4 separate regions of the Homo sapiens genome follow, and all the other regions are linked to region 1. Evidence: promoter capture Hi-C in 16 types of primary human blood cells and fetal thymus (Javierre and others, 2016). All regions are on one chromosome and are shown on one strand. The core of a region is centred on a gene start or on the middle of the fragment in contact, and the rest is flanking DNA. Distances in the headings are between cores, read along the strand shown.

Region 1 (2,700 bases), core at 128-2,627:
TCAGGTAAATGTCTCTAAATGTATACTTTTTCTTTTTTCTTTCTTTATTCCATTTTTTTTTCTTTGTTAGGCAGGGTCTCACTCTGTCACCCAGGCTGGAGTACAGTGGTGCAATCTCAGCTCACTGAAGCCTAAACCTCCTGGGCTCAAGCAATCCTCCCACCTCAACCTCCCACTTAGCCACAGGCATGTGCCACCACACCTGGCTAAATTTTGTATTTTTTGTAGAGATGAGTTTTTGCCATTTTGCCCAGGCTGGTCTCGAACTCCTGAGCTCAAGTGATCTGCCTGCCTTGGCCTTCCAAAGTGCTGCGATTACAGGGCATGCACCAGTGCATGCAGCCTAGTTTTTTCTTTTATGTATTAGTAATGCCAAACGTGTTCTCTATTTCTAACATGTACTATGGCTTTTTTGGCAACATAAGGTACAGAGCACAGGTTAGGTCATACACACACGCACACTCACACCATCATCACACACACACACACGCACACCATCATCATAATCACTTTCTGAACAACTTTTTAAACTTTCCAATGCTCAGTTTTCTCATTTGTAAAATGAGATTCTAAGAGGATCTACCTCAGAATTATTGTAAAATTGAAAGAGATAATGCAAGCAAAATGCTTTGTAACACATAATAGTCATTAGTATTAATGATAGTAGTTGGTACTTATAAGCTAAGTTTTTTTTCTCAACTTCTCTCCATTTATCAAACAGGATACAGCTCAAACCAACTTTTCTTTTTAATCTCAGCATCATCAGAAAATGTTTGAAGTTGGAGAAAAGTCAGCCTCTTCAACATATCTTTGTTATTTAATACAAAAAGAAGAAATACAAAGATAAACACCAATTCTATCTAAAATTGAATGAAAAATAAAGCAAGTTATAGACTGCTGTTCAAGAAGCAAATGAAATCAGCATAAGCAATGAATTCAAAATCCTGAGAAGGATTTCATACAGAAAGAAGAAATTCAAAGATAAACACCAACTTTATCTAAAATTGAAGGAAAAATAAAGCAAGTTATAGACTGCCGTTCAAGAAGCAAATGAAATCAGCATAAGCAATGAATTCAAAATCCTGGGCTATAAATGAAATTGAGGCCGATTTCTGCAAATATATCTCATACTTACTCTATACCTGTCTATAATGCTACAACTCCTGCTTTGCCATATATGTAAAAAACAAGCCTAAGACAGGAAAAAGGAACTTACCCACGAAATTCTCTTTATCTTGCTTCTCAGGTGAAGACACCCTAGAATCCATCTCATTCTTGAGAAGCTTTTATACTTGGCAATTTTTCATGGGTTTGGAGCTAAGTGTGAAGAACAGGCAGCAACTCAGATGTGCTTGGGAGAGGGGAGAGGAGAAAGTATGAGAGAGTGAAAGACATTCCTTCTCTTTAGTGAACTCCCTAAGGGGTAGTTACCCTGGTGAGGGAAGCCTGATAACATAAACAAAAAGATTTCTTTTATGAGTTCAGACTGCCTTTGTTCACAGAAAAAACTTGAAAGAATATGACCATCTGGTGGTATTGCTTCCTGTAAAATATTGCTGTGTAATTTTCTATAGCATTTATATTTCATAAAACACTTCTATGCACCTTGTATAAATCTTGTGTGATCACTGATTACACAATGACCTGTTCAATACACAGGGCAAGTGTATCCATCCTTATGTTTCAGATGAGAAAATTTAACCCAACTCATTCTAACACTGCAGTGAGTGAGCTTTTGAAACTCAAATCTGATCATGTCTTCATCCTGCTTAAAATAATCAAAAAATTGCCAACTGTCAATATTGTAAAGACCAAACTCCTAAGTGTCCTACAAGACCCTGCTGGCCTGCCCCTTCCTCCCTTTCCAGCCTCACTCATGTGTCTCTCCGTGAAGCAGCTCCATTGGTCTCCTATCAGTGCCTCCAAAGCTTGATATGTCTTCTCGCCACCGGATCTTTGCACGTGTTATCATATGCATAATTTTTTGGCTTGTGTCTGTTTCTTCTTCTAGACCAAGAATTGACAAACTTTAGCTTGCCAGCTAAATTTAATTTACCACTTGTTTTTAAAACATAAAGTGTTATTGGAACACAGTATGTCCTTTTGTTGCTTTCTTTTTTTTTTTTTTTTTTTTGAGATAGGATTTCACTCTGTTGCCCAGGCTGGAGTGCAGTGGCACAATCACAGCTCACTGCAATCTCGACCTGCCAGGCTCAAGCAATCTTCCTACCTCAGCCTCTTCAACAGCTGGGACTCCAGGTGCACACCACCATACCTGGCTAATTTTTAATTTTTTTTTTTTTTAGAGATGGGGCCTCACTATATTGCCCAGGCTGGTCTCAAACTCTGGGCTCAAATGATCCTTCAGCCTTGGTCTCCCAAACTGCTGGGATTGTAGATATGAGCCACCATGCCCAGCTCTTTCATTTTTGTATTGTCTGTGCTCACTTTTGCACTGCACCCGTGGATTTGAGTAGTTGTGACACAGACCATACAAGCTGTAAGGCCTAAAATATTTACTGTTTGTCCCTTCACAAAAAAAGTTTGCTGACCCCTGCCTTGCACTATACATTTCCATGAGGAGAGTGACTTGGTCTAACATTTCCATTGCATCTGCAACAATTAGAACAACGTGGGCACATGATTGATGTTCAACAATACTTGCTGAATGAATGAATATATAAATCACAAATGAAAACA
Region 2 (2,700 bases), core at 60-2,559, 580 kb after region 1:
TAAATTTTAAAATCTTTACATCTTTAGTAGAGACAGGGTCTCACTATGTTGGCCAGGTTGGTCTCAAACTCCTGGGCTCAAGCATCTTCCAGCCTTGCTGTCCCAAAGTGCTGAGATTACAGGCATAAGCCACCACGCCTGGCTAATTTATGTAATTTTTAAATATCCAGAAGGATTCATTAAAAACATGGCAAGAAAAGAGGATGTGGGAGTAAAATAATAGAGTAATATATAATAGAATAATAATATAAAATAAAATGATAATCTTATATAATACAATATATAATGTATATATTAGAATGATATATAGAATGATAATCAAAGAACTAAGTAAGAAGATTGCCATGCAATTACCATTTGCAGCAACAATGATTTAATCATGATTATAGCTCTGGTAGATATAAAATAGTTGTACTTTAAGTATTAACACTATCAACGGTCAGTATGGGGCAACAGTGTGTGCATGTGAGTGCGTGTGAGTGAATGTGTGTGTGTGCATGGGCATGCCACGTGTGTGTTTTTCTCCTAAATATTTAAGGCAAAAGCCTAAAGCAAATGAGGCTATTTCTTGAAGATGAATGTTCAAAGTAAGAAGAACCCTGTAATTTCTTTTACCCATGGATAACATTCTTTATCTCCCCATCCAGTCAGATTCAGTAAGCGAGAATCCTTAATTTCCATTAATCTAACCACTACTAGATTGAAAGTGTGAAAAACAACAATAAACTAACCACTTCATGTAGTTCAGATTTTAGGCAAGCTTATTCTTTTTAGGAAATGCTGAAAGATGCCTCAAACCACAAATCAGGCTTTATTTCAATAAATGTTTGTGACCACATATTGATAATGATAGGAGGCAGCCAAATGCCTAGACAGATAGGGCAGGTCCCTGGTGAAACCCCACCTCCAAGCCAAAGACAGTTTAAAGCCTGAAAGCCAAGCTACAAGTTAAATCCTCCGACCAGATTGAGAACTTGTCTTCCTGTTCGATGCGCTTTCCTCTTATTGATCCCCACCCTTCACCTATTTTACATATCCCTACCCTTTCCTAATTGGTCTTCTACACCGTCATATCCAACTTTGAGTGGTGTCTTTGCCTCAACCTTTTGCCTATAAAGACCCCAGACTCAGTCAGTAGAGGAGGAGACGACCTGACTTCAGGGAGGTGACAGCCTGACATCAGGGAAGATGACCTGCCCTTCTCTTCCCCTCTCCAGCTGAGAACTGTTTTCATCACTCAATAAAACTACCCACCTTCACCATCCTTCAACTATCTGTGTGACCTCATTCTTCCTGGATGCCGGACAAGAGCTCGGGACCCACTGATTGCGGGTATCCAGTAAGGCTGTCACACCGGCCCTTTGCCCTTGACGGCGGAGGGCAGCCACCCCACACAACAAGGCAAGAGGCCAACTGAGCTGCTAACACACCGCTGTCCGTGGACAGTGGAATTTAAGGAGCACTGTAACATCCTCTCTGGGGCTTTGGGGTCATGGGCACCCTCACAGGGGCGCCACCACATTCCCCTCAAGGTGACATGCCTGGTCTGGCCACGGGCCCTGCATGGAGCTTGCTTCTGTGTCAGCACCCAGAGTGGCTGGCCGGATCCTACGCTCGCTTGCTCATGTGCTGCCTCCTGCAAGGGGTTGAGTGTGACGAGCCAAGTAGAGGGGGCTCCCCTGCCGTGAGTTGGTGAAGGGGCTGAGAAAAATCCTGCATCAATATGTCCAAGGTTATAAATGTGACAATTAAATCAGGGGCAAAGGACATGAACTGGCCAAGGATACTGTATCACAGGACAAGAATCTCCTAGAATTGTACTTGTGTCCTACATAAGTAGCAATCAGATAGCAACGTAGTAAGCTTTCATAAAAATAAAGACACCTAATATTGCATACAATCAAATATAAAATAAAGCATTTAAGATAGAAAAATCTAAAGAGTTAGTCATTTATGGCTCAGAGCCGTGGTAGTATATTTTTTAAACTCTGTGTGTGTGTGTGTGTGTGTGTGTGTGTGTGTGTGTGTGTGACAGTCCCCAGTGAGAATCAGTCTGAGACCTCTTTCCAGAAACATATACACGTACACAAATGCAGGGCCCAGACATAGATCTTCTATGAATATATGTATAAAGCCATAATTCAGAGGTTCCAGTCCGATTCTCAATAAAGGGTATTATACAGTACATCCATCTCCTATTACTCAAAAACCTCTCTTTAAGAAGTAAAAGCTTTATCCCTAATTGTTACAGCTTTTGAAAAGGAAAACACACCACAGTCCAATTTTCTACGCAAAGTAGGCTTGGCCACCTATCTTCCTTCTGCTCATAACTAAAATGTGTTGGCGGTTCTGTGTCTCCTCCACTCTTGCTGCCTGCCTCTCCTGTCCTCTATTTCCTTTAATCGTCACCTTCCACTTTAAGACTCAGCTGTTGCACAAATAGCCAGATCTTAACCTTCTGAGTTTGCATACCCAAGCCATCAAAAACTGGTAGAAAAAGCCATCTTTCTCCTAAGTGGAAGGATTCTGGATTTGTGAAATACCAGTCAATGACCATTAGCTTCTCCTCCAAGTCAGCCAGTCACATGGTCTTTGGGTCACAAGGCTGAGGGCAAGGGGATCAGAATTCATAGGAAAGTAATGAATAATGTTATTGAGGTTAAAGGTGAGATACGCAATCTAATATCTGATGATGGCAAA
Region 3 (2,700 bases), core at 162-2,661, 650 kb after region 1:
TTCATTTTTTAAACGGTATTTTGTACATATGTTAGTCAATAATAACATCTGAGATGGTATATTACAATTATATAATATAATTGAGACACAACAGGCGACTATAAAATGTAACACCATTCTACTTGGAAGTAACCTTTAGAAATGTGGCATTTCTTTCTGCTCCAAACCATAGATTCCTGCTGTTGAAAGGAACTTCAGTTTGATCTTCCACCAAATGGAGAAGTCTCTTCCTTAACATCTCTAGGTTTGTCAGCTGGCCCTTGCTTCACTTCCTCTAGTGAGAGTGAATGTATGACCACCCTCTTGTTGGACAGCTCTAAATGATAGAAAGTTCTTCTTTTCCAAAGTTTTCACAATTATGTTAATCTTTTGTCCATGAATTAGGTATCTCTCATTCTAAAACCATATATTTTCATTTTATCATACTGCTTCCAAATGGATATCTGCTATATGCCAAAAAGTGTGCAGGGTAATTGTTGAGAACAGAAAAATTAATGAGACCTGGTGCCCCTTTTTTTAAATTTTATTTTATTATTATTTTTTTAGATGGAGTCTCGCTCTGTCGCCAGCCTGGAGTGCAGTGGTGCGATCTCAGCTCACTGCAACCTCCGCCTCCCGGGTTCAAGCGATTCTTCTGCCTCAGCCCCCTGAGTAGCTGGGACTACAGGTGCGTGCCACCATGCCCAGCTAATTTTTATATTTTTAGTAGAGATGGGGTTTCACCATATTGGTCAGGATGGTCTCCATCTCTTGAATTTGTATTCTGCCCACCTCAGCCTCCCAAAGTGCTGGGATTATAGGCATGAGCCACCATGCCCAGCCTCTGGTGCCCCTTCTTAAGGGCACCTTATGTTTATAATCTACTCATAGAAGAGATAATACATGTGCATAATTATTTCTACCTCAGATGTCAAAGAGAACTTTTCAATTCTATGAATCTTTGTTCAGATGAGGTTAAAAAAAAATGATACCCCAGACGGAAGGAGGTTTAATGAAGGAGAAACCTGGTAGGTGGTGATACAGGGGTAACAGGGGCAGAACATTGCAGGCAGAAGAGAAGGCATGAGCATGGTGAGGAGGGCAAGCACTGGGCATGTTAAGAAACAGGATTAAAACTCTTGGAGTATAGTAGAAACTAAACATAGGGCAGCAGTGAGAGTGAAATATAGGCCGTGCTGGGGTTGGTTGAGGTCAAGTTATAGAGCACCTGGAAGCCAGAGAAAGCAGTGTGGATTCGATTCTCTACACTAATGTCCTCCAAAGTGGAGCATAAACTCCAGGATGTAGGTAAGAGAATGCATGGGGGTGTGAGAAGATGTCAAAGCTTCTGCTGAGCTTTAATTTTTAATCTTAAAGGTAAAAAAAGCAGTATGAAATGTACTCTATTGGTTGAATGCCTTCACTGTCTACATTTCAAGGTCACATGTTGCATTTCATGTACAGTAGAGGAGGCTTCCTGAGGGTACCGTGGAAGCTCCATAATGCTGAGAGGTTGAGGGGAAGCTTCACTTTTTGTTGCCTTTCATTGAGTTTTCAGGTTATGAGGGACCCAGTTAGTTGGCATTATAGATTATGTCATCTAATTTTAACTAAATTCGTCTTTACAAAATTACAGATAGATTTAAAGAGATTCCTTTAGAGAAGCCACAGATTGAAAATAATACTCAAGGTCGGGTGCGGTGGCTCACGTCTGTAATCCCAGCACTTTGGGAGGCTGAGACAGGCTGATCACAAGGTCAGGATTTCGAGACCAGCCTGACAAACATGGTGAAACCCCGTCTCTATTGAAAATAGAAAAATCAGCCGGGTGTAGTGGCGCGCACCTGTAATCCTAGCGACTCAGGAGGCTGAGGCAGAAGAATGGCTTGAGCCTGGGAGGCGGAGGTTGCAGTGAGCCAAGATCACACCATTACACTCCAGCCTGGTCCAGCCTGGGCCACAGAGTGAGACTCCATCTCAAAAAAAAAAAAAAAAAAAAAAAAAAAAAGAAAAGAAAAGAAAATAATACTCATAATACAATTACAAATAAAATATGGTACAGCTGACCTTCCTTTGATTCCAAGTACAAGATATTCAACACCCACATTACAAGAAAAAAACAGTGCTAATCGGATGAGGTCTGACAAGAAATACTATTCTAAAAGTGACAATGAAATATGGCTATAGATGCAATTTTATTTAGGTGAACCTTCTTATAAGTAGTATTCAGTAATATATATTGTGACTTTGTGAAATGTTGAGACGTTTCTTTCTCTGTTTTTTGCCATGTTAGTGTTCAACTTGAAACTAGAATAGCTACTTTCCGTTGCTGTATCACAAAGTATTAAACAAAGGCTTTTAAAAACATACATACAACAAAGCATATACATAGGTTTAAATACGAATAGATATATAAAAATTATATGACTATAAAATATTTAATACATATATTATGTGCACATTATAATATTAATGATAAAAATTTAGAAAGCCAAAAAGTTTTTTGAAACATTAATAAGTAAAAAAAAATCATTGAAAATATTTTTATTTTCACTGTATCTCAACCATTAAAATTTTTAGGCCTGTTTAAGAATGTACCTGAAATGCTATGTTTTCAGCTTCATTTAAAATAGAAGAGACCAGGTGCGGTGGCTCACACCTGTAATCCCAGCACTTTGGCAGATGAATAGCTTGAGCCTAGGAGTTTGAGACCATCTTGGG
Region 4 (2,700 bases), core at 78-2,577, 630 kb after region 1:
AACAAAGATCAGAGCAGAACTAAATGAAATTGAAACAGCAAATAAATAAATTAAATAAATAAATAAATAAATAAATAAATAAATGAAATTAAAAGCTGGTTCTTTGAAAAGATTAAAAAAAGATAGACTATTAGTGATATTAACCAAGAAAAGAAGAGACAAGATACAAGTGAGCTCAATTAGGAATAAAACGGGAGATATTACAACTGATACCACAGAAATAACAAAAGATCATTCAAGGTTACTATAAACACCTTTATCTACACAAACTAGAAAATCTAAAGGAGATGCATAAATTCCTGGAAATATACAACCCTCCTTGATTAAATCAGAAAGAAATAGAAAGTCTGAACAGACCAATCATAAGTAGCAAGACTAAAACAGTAATTTAAAAATTGTGGACAAAAAAAAAATCTGGATTCACAGATGAGTTCTATTCAAAAAATTGGTACCAACCTTACTGAAACTATTCCAAAAGATAGAGAAAGAGGGAATCATCTGTAAATCATTCTATGAAGCCAATATCACCCTAATAACAAGACCAGGAAGGGACATAACCAAAAAAGAAAACTACAGACCAATATCCCTGATGAACACAGATGCAAAAATCCTCAACAGAATACTAGTTAACTGAATTCAACAGCATATCAAAAAGATAATACACCATGATCAAGTGGGTGTCATTCCAGGGATGCAGGGATGGTTTGACACATGGAAGACCACAAATGTGATACACCACATAAACAGAATTGAAAACAAAAAACTTATGATCATCTCAATAGATGCAGAAAAAGCACTGGACAAAAGCCAGCATCATTTTGTGATCAGCAAAATCAGCATAGAAGGGACCTGCCTCAAGGTAATAAAAGCGATCTATGACACAACCACAGCCAACATTATACTAAGTGGGGAAAAGTTGAAAGCATTCCCTCTGAGAACTGGAACGAGACAAGGATGCTCACTTTCACCACTGCTATTCAACATTGTACTGGAAGCCCTAGCCAGAGCAATCAGACAAGGGAAATAAATCAGAACATCCAAATTGGTAAGGAGGAAGTCAAACTGTCGCTGTTGGCTGGTGATACCATTGTATACCTAGAAAACCCTAAAGACTCTTCCGAAAAGTTCCTAAATCTGATAAATGAATTTAGTAATGTTTCAGGATGCAAAATCAATGTACACAAATCAGTAGCACTGCTACACACCAGCAATGACCAAGCTGAGAATCAAATCAAGAACTCAACCCTTTTGCAACAGCTGCCAAAAAAATGAAATACTTAGGAATATAGCTAACCAAGGAGGTGACAGATCTCTACAATGAAAACTGCAAAACGCTGCTGAAAGAAATCAGAGATGGCACAAACAAATGGAAACACATCCTATGCTCATAGATGGGTAGGATCAGTATTGTGAAAATGACCATACTGCCAAAAGCAATCTACAAATTCAATACAATTCCCATCAAAATGCCATCATGTAAGAGACAAGATGAGTAATCTTCCTTCCATTCATTCATTCAACAAATATTTTAAACATCTGACACTTATCACACACTGCCCTAGGCACTTAGGATACATCATTGAACAAAAGAGACCAAAAGCCCTTCTGTCCAAGAGCTTATATTTCTAGAGAGAAACTACGTTAAATTCAAATAAACATTTTTTGTTCACCATAAAGGGTAAAAATATGGGCCACAGGCTGAGAAAAGATATATAACCAACAAGAATTTGTATCCAGAATACATAAATAATGTGTACAAATAAACTAAAAGAAAAAGAAAAGAAAACAAAACAAAACCTCATGGGCAAAAGAATAAGCAGTTCCCAGAAGTAGAAAGCCAAATGCCAGTAGACATGAAAAGATGGGTATTTCATTAGTAATTAAGGAAGTACTAGTTATAATATCAAAGAAATACCATTTTATAACTATGAAACTCTCAAAAATGAGAAAGCCTGACAATATCAATCATTGGAGATAGTGTGGTACAATGAGGATTCTTAATTGTTTAGTTAGAATAAATTGGTGCCATACTTTGCATAATAGTTTTTACAATAGCTAGTAAACTTGAAGATGGGTGTGTTATTTCCCCTAGCAACTCCACTCCCAGACATAGACCTCACAAAAATGAACGTATATAAAGAAGATATACATAATTGTTAGTAAAAACAAAATTGAAAACAACTAAATGTCCAACAAGATAACAAATAAAGGTTTGATGCTTTCAAAAAATTCTAATAGAAGTGATTCTACTAGGAATGACTGACTCTATAATATAAGACTGTTGGATTTACTGGATCCATATTATCCTGGCCTATCACTTTGAGAGAACAGTAATGAATGCTATTAGAAAAATATTGAAGTGGGAAAGAATAAAATCAAAGTTCTAATATTTATTCCCAGACTTCATCATGAAGTAATAAATTTCTCTCTGCCAAGGAAAATCCTTATCCTTTAAGGCTCAGTTCAAGAATTACTTTGCGAGTCCTTCTTCCTTGGTTCTCCCCTGCCTACTGAAAGTATACTCCTATAACCTCTGTATTTGAGTAACACTTTTCACTGTTTCCTTTGTTTTTTTATGTTGGGGGTGGAGGGGGCATAAATATTAGAACTATACATTTATATTTTTACTGCATATAAAATGACTGACTGTCCCACCTCTCCTTTCCTTAGAACCTCTTTTTCTATTCAAATTGAACACTC

What was found. The method cuts DNA at HindIII sites, captures the fragments that hold promoters and counts their contacts. A CHiCAGO score of 5 or more calls a contact.
Region 2: a fragment that was not itself captured here is called in contact with the fragment with the promoter of STOML3 in region 1 in 1 of 17 cell types (non-activated CD4 T cells); the score reaches 5.8 in non-activated CD4 T cells.
Region 3: a fragment that was not itself captured here is called in contact with the fragment with the promoter of STOML3 in region 1 in 1 of 17 cell types (total CD4 T cells); the score reaches 6.5 in total CD4 T cells.
Region 4: a contact is called between a fragment that was not itself captured here and the fragment with the promoter of STOML3 in region 1, in 4 of 17 cell types (non-activated CD4 T cells, total CD4 T cells, activated CD4 T cells and 1 more). The highest score is 6.2, in non-activated CD4 T cells.

The regions. Positions count from the first base shown.
Region 1 is chr13:38,989,454-38,992,153 of GRCh38, forward strand. STOML3 (stomatin like 3) reads right to left here and starts at 1,378. Exons shown (of 7, transcript NM_145286.3): 1 at 1,217-1,378. The coding sequence starts at 1,268. The HindIII fragment of the contact is 645 bases long and covers 1,282-1,926 here.
Region 2 is chr13:39,570,300-39,572,999 of GRCh38, forward strand. All of the region lies in intron 2 of LHFPL6 (LHFPL tetraspan subfamily member 6), which reads right to left. Among named protein-coding and RNA genes, the nearest start is that of LHFPL6, 32 kb to the right of the region's middle. RefSeq lists enhancers at 874-1,441, 1,442-2,008. The HindIII fragment of the contact is 1,103 bases long and covers 759-1,861 here.
Region 3 is chr13:39,641,577-39,644,276 of GRCh38, forward strand. No RefSeq gene overlaps it. Among named protein-coding and RNA genes, the nearest start is that of COG6, 13 kb to the right of the region's middle. The HindIII fragment of the contact is 179 bases long and covers 1,323-1,501 here.
Region 4 is chr13:39,622,107-39,624,806 of GRCh38, forward strand. No RefSeq gene overlaps it. Among named protein-coding and RNA genes, the nearest start is that of LHFPL6, 20 kb to the left of the region's middle. The HindIII fragment of the contact is 8,597 bases long and covers 1-2,700 here.